2 separate regions of the Homo sapiens genome follow, and region 1 is linked to region 2. Evidence: promoter capture Hi-C in human tissues and cell types (Jung and others, 2019). All regions are on one chromosome and are shown on one strand. Each heading gives the region's core, a stretch centred on a gene start or on the middle of the fragment in contact. The rest is flanking DNA. Distances are from core to core; before and after follow the strand shown. Region 1 overlaps BTBD9 (BTB domain containing 9). Region 2 holds the start of RNF8 (ring finger protein 8).

Region 1 (3,559 bases), core at 661-3,160, 1.1 Mb before region 2:
TTGATGTGGATAAAAATGTGTGGGGATTTAACTTGATTGTACAGGTCTTTGTTCTGTGGAATTTATATCTTTAGGGCTCCATTTGTTTTGAATGTAATTTTGTGAGAAAATCAACACAGAACTGAGGTCTGCCTCAGTATCAACTGGGGTGGGGCGTGGGGGGTTACCAAAGTAGAGGGTACACACATCCTTGGTGTGGATAGTGACGCTTACAGGAGGAGTGGTCCGGGGCTTCTTGGGTTTTAGAATCAAATAATTTTGAAATTGGATGGTGTGTAGAAATAGTGGTGCTCACCACAGGTTTCATGTGTCCCCTTATGTTGCCCAGCCTTTGTTGCTATTGGATTTGGGCTTTGTGACTTGCCCAGGCCAACGAGCTATGAGTGGAAGGGATACAGGACACTTCTGAGCCAAGGCATTTAAAAGCTAGTATTCCTCTTACATCCTTTTCTGGGTTACTTCTTGCCTTGTTTTTTTTTTTTTTTTTTAGTACTAGATAGAAAAAGATAGAACCATACAAATTTTGAAATATATGTGTCTCTAAATAATGAAAGAAATTTAGCTTATGTGATGTAGAACTGTTTAGTACAGTCTGTGAAGAAATATGCTTAGCATTCTCTTGCCCATGAACATGGAGTGTGGATGGCAGAGTCCAGCTCTGGTGTTGTGACTCATCCTTGATACCTCACCAGTCCTGGAACAACCTAGTTGTGGAAAAACTGGGATAGGTTGGATTTGGTTTTAGATATTATAGACAGGTGCGTCAGGCAGCTGAATTTGTACAGTAAACCACTTTTGTAAATGATCAGATTTCTGTGTCTGATAATTTGTTGGGAATCACTTGGATGTTGGTTGTGCTGGAAATTCTTATTAATGTGAAAGACACTTTATAGTTATTGTTTCCATAAAGCCAACAAGATTCAAACATAACAGTATTGAGACCAAGGGGCATCTCAGCCTTAAATCCATTTTTCAGCATGCCTAACACACATTATTCTTATTAAATACCTCTTTCTATAAACCTAGCTGTTGCTACCTCAGTGGGTTGCTTGCAGTTTGACTGTAGCCTAGCTTGCTTAATTAAGACTTAAAATAATACCTTCGGTTCTGCCTGGGACTTGAGAGAATAGCCAGCTCTGAAGCCTTTGCTTGCTGTAATGGTTGCTCAGTAGTTGGAGTTTTGTAGCAACAAGGTTTGGAAATCCTCTACCATACAATGGTTTTTATTGTTAATAGGTCTAGTTGTAAGTAGTCATCCTTTTTGACATCAGTTCCTTCTTGCTGAATACTTTATTCTTCTCAGTTTTCTTTTCCTCCCTTTCATCTTTTCTGCTCTCTCCTTTCCTCCCCTTCACTGCCTTTCTCGTTCTCTTTCTTTCCATATCATGAACTGGTAAATTTGCAAAAAGGGACTCCATACTGCTGCCATGTGTAGGGTCCGGGAAACCTGATCATTTTGAAGAGCTAGCCCGTTCTAATGCTATGGTTAGGAAACATCTTACTGAATGTTGCATCTTTTGTGATGTGTGAAATTCCAGAGGAAGTACAGTTTGGGGAAAAAAAGTGTATCCTTGGGACCTACATTAGAGAATATAAATCACAAATCAATATACAGTTCAGATAATACTAGATCGTATACAGCAACTGCCTGTGACAGCAGTGGGAGGTGGGAAAAGTCCCCTCCCTGTGTGCATTTTGAGAAATACACTGTTTTTATTTGGTACAGTTGCATATTCATTTCTAACAGACTGCATCCTAAAAGAATTGGACTTTTATAGATTCCATGAATATTCAGAGAGTCACCAAAACCAATTTTGTCCTTTACCTTATGTGTCTAGACCCATCTGTCATTTGCTTGCTAGATGGTCATAGTTCTGTATTGTGGCATTTGTCTTTTGAGAAAAAGGTATTTCCCATGTTGATAAGGGGGCATGCTGGTACCTTTGCTTCCCTGCTTGAAAGTTTTCACCTTCAGGGTGGATCTTGGTGAGAGCATGTGGCTAGGCCCTGGCTACTTTGCTGTCTGCCACCAGCTCTCTTAAGCTTTTAGGGCATTGTTTTAGACACTAACGTAGCAAGGGAAGGCATGATGGCTGTTGCCACTAGTAAGTCATAGGGTACTTGGCAAGCTGGCAAAAGCTAGAAGCCTCATTCATTTGCATTTTAATTGGAATGACCATTAGCCAAAAGCCCGAATTTTTAAAATTGTCCATTGAGTCCTTTTTCCCTTTACCCTCTCATTTTCCTGAAGCTGATTTCCATCTCTCTCTCTCTTTTTTTTTTTTTTTTTAAGAGACAGGGTCTTGCTCTGTCACCCAGGCTGCAGTGCAGTGCAGTGGTGTGATCATGTCCTGCTGCAGCCTCAACCTCCTGGGCTAAAGCAGTCCTCCTGCCCCAGCCTCCTGAGTGGTTGGGACTACATGTGTGTGCCACCGTGCCCAGCTAATTTAATTTAATTTTTTTTTTGTAGTGACAGAGTCTCCCTGTGTTACTCAGGCTGGTCTTGAACTCCTGGGCTCAAGCAGCCCTCTCACCTCAGCCTCCCAAAGTACTATGGTTACAGGTGTGAACCACTGCGCCTGGCTGATTTGCATCTTTAGAAAAATGTGTTTCTCAACATTTAAAAACTCATGTCTCTTTGATAAACTTACAAATCTTACATCTCCTTTAATATTATTTAAAATATTATAAAAAGTAAGAATTGTAATAAAAGAAGGCAGTGACAGCCTGAGAAGGATGCCCTTTCTTTCCTTCAGTCGTGTGAGTCATGTGTGAAAGTGGGGCTGGCTTGCTTGCCCCAAGTGTTTTTCCTGTTCTTGCCAGTGACAGAGCACAGAGGAGGTCACTTTCACATCAGGCCTCTTCAGCTGCTTTGTTTTCACGGTCACAACGGGCAGAAAGCCTGCTTTGCAAATGTTGTGTATTTTATTATAATTTTGAAAATGCTTTTTTAGATGACACATGTGCCCATCTCTTCTCTCCAAAGGATTCTGATATGACTCCCATACCATTTCTTACCACCTCACTGCTCTTAATACTTAAACATGAAGAAAGAGACAGAAGAAAGTAATTAAGATGGGATAAGTAAGACATTCTTATTCATGAGCATATTCTGTCTGTCATCATCCCCACGGGGCTGTTATTGCACCTCCTCTTCATTGTTATACCCCCGCCCCCCCGCCCAGATGCACCTGCACGGTCATTTGAGCCCTGTCCTCCAGTCATACTTGGATAAGAGGAAGCCAGCCTCACTGGTTCCATCACAGTTCTAACTGCTGTATAGAGTTCTGTGGTGCCTTAAGTAATACGATTATGTATAGAAAAGCTGGGTGCAACCAGTAGCACATGAAGCACATAACAAATGCCAATTCTGTTCCTTTTCCTCCCCTTTCCAGAATTCAGTGTGTTTGCTTCCAGAACCATCTTTGGGTCTTCTAATGTATAATAAAGAAGGACAGGTTTTTCATAGATGAAATTTTGAGTGGGTTTTATTGATTCACCCATGTGACTCCATACCTGCTAACTCTGGTTCCAGTCCTCCTTCTGGTGAAAATAGGTC
Region 2 (3,521 bases), core at 670-3,169:
CAAAAATAATTTATTTTTGTGTGTATTATTCAGGTTATTATTCAGGTGTTCGTGTTTTAATTTGTTAAACTTCCCACAAACATATGCTGTTGGAAAGGGCCAGGCAGGGAAAGATCAGTGCTCAAGCTAAAAGAATGAATGCTTAATGTGGACTTTTAGGCACTAATACCTGGATAGAAGAGGTATTTGGAGGCAGAGATGTTTTCTTGGTGTTCCTCAAACCACAGCATACAAGTAACCCTTTATAACACTCCCTAATCTAGCAATTAAATTTGTGCCTAGACATGAATTCCTCCTCTGACTTGAAGAACTACTGCTCTGGGAAGGAACTAAATAATCCAAATCTTAGCACTTGATCATACAGCCCATATGGATGTTCTTTATACGATGACTGCTTCATTGTATAAATCCTCTCTCCCCACTCAAGCCTTAAACTCTTCGAGCGCAGAAATTTTATTTGTCCTCATTGTACACCAAACAATGTTAAATACTCAGTAAATACCTGGCAGACTGAATTGAGGCAGTACGGCTTATAGGAAAAATCTACCTGAACACACATGAGACTCAAAATACTTCTTGAATTTACATCATGACCAACCATCCACTTTTACTGCAAAGAGAACTTTTCATACAGATTATTTCCAAAACCCAAATGGTTCCCAGTCATCACAAGCTTGTCCCTGACCCAGTTCTCCTTCTCAACCTGATTGCAATCTAACTCCCTCCTCCCTTCCCTCGTCTTTTCAAGATGCACCACGCTGGTGCATCTTGAACCGTGCCAGGAACGGTACCTCATCTTTCCCCTTAAAATATTTTTCATTTGCAACTGCATTAATAAAGACGACAGGCAGCCTCTGGAGAGAACTCTGAATACCTGCCCGACCCACCTCAGGGAGTGCCACTCGGCCGTACCGAGCCTCACAGGAGAAATGTGGCCCAGCCCAAGCCGCCCATGTTCCTCAGAGTTGGGAAGGAGGAAGACATTTCTACGTGAAAGTTTGATTGCTTTAAGGGACAAAACCCAAAATTTGCAATCGTTTTCAAAACAAACTCGAGAAAGTTCAGGCGCCGGGCCCTGCCTCGGCTTCCCGGCAGCTCGCGGCCCCCGCCACCGTTCCCCGACCTGGCACCGCGGGGCTCTGTGCGCCCTAAACGGGATCTGGCCAGCCCCCGCCCTCCCCTCCTCGACACCCCCGCATCTCCTCACGTTCCCTGCGCGTCCCTCTCCTCCCAGTCCCCGGCCCAGCTACCCGCTGACCCAGGCCTCTCTGGACGGGGCCCGCTTCTCGCCCCACAGGCCGCGGGTCAGGGCCTCCGTCCTCGCCCCAACCCTTGTGGCCCCCCCGGGCTCCCCAGAGCCGAACTCTCTTTTCTTCCTTTCTCCCACTCGGCCCCTATTTCTCCCCCAAACACCTCCCACCGCAGACCCTTCAGCCGCTCGCGCCAGAACCGCTTTCTCCCTTCTCTCCCCAGGAATCCACCCCCCCCACAGACACTTCGCTCCTCTTCCTGATGCCCGCCTCCTCTCTGCCATTCATTCAGCCCAGCAAGACACCTTCCTCCCTCCCCGGAGCCCCGCTCCCTCCAGCCCCTGCCCTCCGCTCCACAGGACCCCTTCCCCCGTACCTCGCACCCATCTTCCAGCAGCAGCCACCCGGCGCTCATCCCCACCCGCCGCAGGCACCAGCTCCGGCCACCGGCGCGGTCTCCTGTGACGAAGAAGCCGGGCTCCCCCATCGCCTACTCGACCCCGGGGGCGGTCAGCACCGAGCGAGACCCTGACCTAGGTTCTGGCTGCCTCTGTGCATCCCCTCAGCTTCCATATCTAAATAACAGACAGAAGCAATCGCCACACGCTCGCGATCGCTGCGAAAGCAGGCTCCGCTCGCCCGCCCTCGGCCAGGAAGCAGGAGCACTACGCCTGCGCAAGAGGACGGCGGCCGCCCTGGAGCAAAGAGGGTGGGTTGGGAGCCAATCCGGCCCTGGGCGGGGCGGGCGCGATTCGAGAGGTCTCCTCGCCTCACACCTTCCCTCGCCGCCTCCAGAACCATCACCCCAGTCCTAGCCGCCCCAGACTGGAACCTCTTCTCACCTTTCCTCTTTTTAAAAAAGTCATGTGAAACTATAGCCCACTTTTAAACAACTTTAAACTTTCCATCGGATTTAAGTCTGCCTAGTCTGTTGCTAAATAGTCTCTATTTTGCACGACCTACTTATATTACCGAAGTAAAAAATAAATTACACTAGGCAAATCTACAAAGACAAAGAGCACAGTTACCTGGGGCGAGGTGTGGGAGCGGGTATTGAATGCAGATGGGCTTGAAAAAATTGGAGGAAAGCGGTAATAGAAATGTTCTAAAAGTGGATTGTGGTGACAATTGTACAACTGTATAAGTTTATTAAAAAGTCATGGAAGTGTGGCCGGACGCAGTGGCTCACGCCTGTAATCCCAGCACTTTGGGAGGTCGAGACGCGCGGATCACTTGAGTTCAGGAGTTGTGACCAACCTGGCCACATGGGGAGACACCGTATCTACAAAAAAAAAAAAAAAAAAAGGAGGAAGGGAGGGAGAGAAAGGAAAAAAGAAAAAAAAGAAAAATTAGCTAGGTGTGGTGGTGCACACCTGTAGTCCGGCTACTTGGGAGGCTGAGGTGGGAGGATCACCTGACCCCGGGAGGCAGAGGTTGCAGTGAGCCGACATGGCGCCACTGCATCCCAGCCTGGGCGACAGAGTGAGACCCTGTAAAGTGAAGAAAGTGTAAACTTCCAGTGGGTGAATTTTATGGCATGTAAATTATACTCAATAAAGCTGTTAATTTTATTATTATTATTACTGATTACAGACAGGGTCTCGCCCTGTCACCCAGGCTGGAGTGCAGCCTGGAGTGGTGCGATCTCAGCTCACTGCAACCTCCGCCTCCCGGGTTCAAGAGATTCTCCTGCCTCAGCCTCCAGAGTAGCTGGGATTACAGGCACGCGCCACCACGCCCGGCTAATTTTTATATTTTTTGGTAGATACCGGGTTTCGCCGTGTCTCCTGGATTCAAGTGATCCAACCGCCTCAGCCTCCCAAAGTGCTGAGATTACAAGCATGAGCCCCCGAGCCCGGCCAATTAAAAAATTGTTTTTAAACTCAGCCTCTCCTTTGGATTTTCCATATAGTGTGATAGCTGCTGCCTGCAGTGAGTACATCCAATGGTTGAGCCCCTTTTGTCTTTTCAGTTTTCCAACACCCAGTTAACAATTTCTTTCTTCTTTCTTTCCTTCCTTCCTTCTCTTTCTTTCTTTTCTTTTTTCTTTCTCTTTTCTTCTTTCTCTCTCTTTCTTTCTCTCCTTCCTTCCTTCCTTCCTCCCTTCTTCCTCTCTTTTTTTTTTTTTTTTGCACAAGGGGAAAGAAGGAAAACAATTTTCCTAAATAAAATTCTGTCAAAAAACCAGCCGGGCTGGGCATGGTGGCTCATGCCTGTAATCTCAGCACTTTTGAGAGGCCGAGGCAGGCGGATCACCTAAGGTTGGGAGTT

The links. Contacts are between HindIII fragments. The study calls those that stand out against the background at their distance.
Region 1: a fragment that was not itself captured here is called in contact with the fragment with the promoter of RNF8 in region 2 in 1 of the 25 tissues and cell types used here (dorsolateral prefrontal cortex).

The regions. Positions count from the first base shown.
Region 1 is chr6:38,495,387-38,498,945 of GRCh38, reverse strand. All of the region lies in intron 6 of BTBD9 (BTB domain containing 9), which reads left to right. Among named protein-coding and RNA genes, the nearest start is that of BTBD9-AS1, 16 kb to the right of the region's middle. The HindIII fragment of the contact is 5,265 bases long and covers 1-3,559 here.
Region 2 is chr6:37,352,381-37,355,901 of GRCh38, reverse strand. RNF8 (ring finger protein 8) reads right to left here and starts at 1,919. Exons shown (of 8, transcript NM_003958.4): 1 at 1,627-1,919. The coding sequence starts at 1,737. RefSeq lists an enhancer at 1,617-1,666 and a silencer at 1,967-2,066. The HindIII fragment of the contact is 14,582 bases long and covers 22-3,521 here.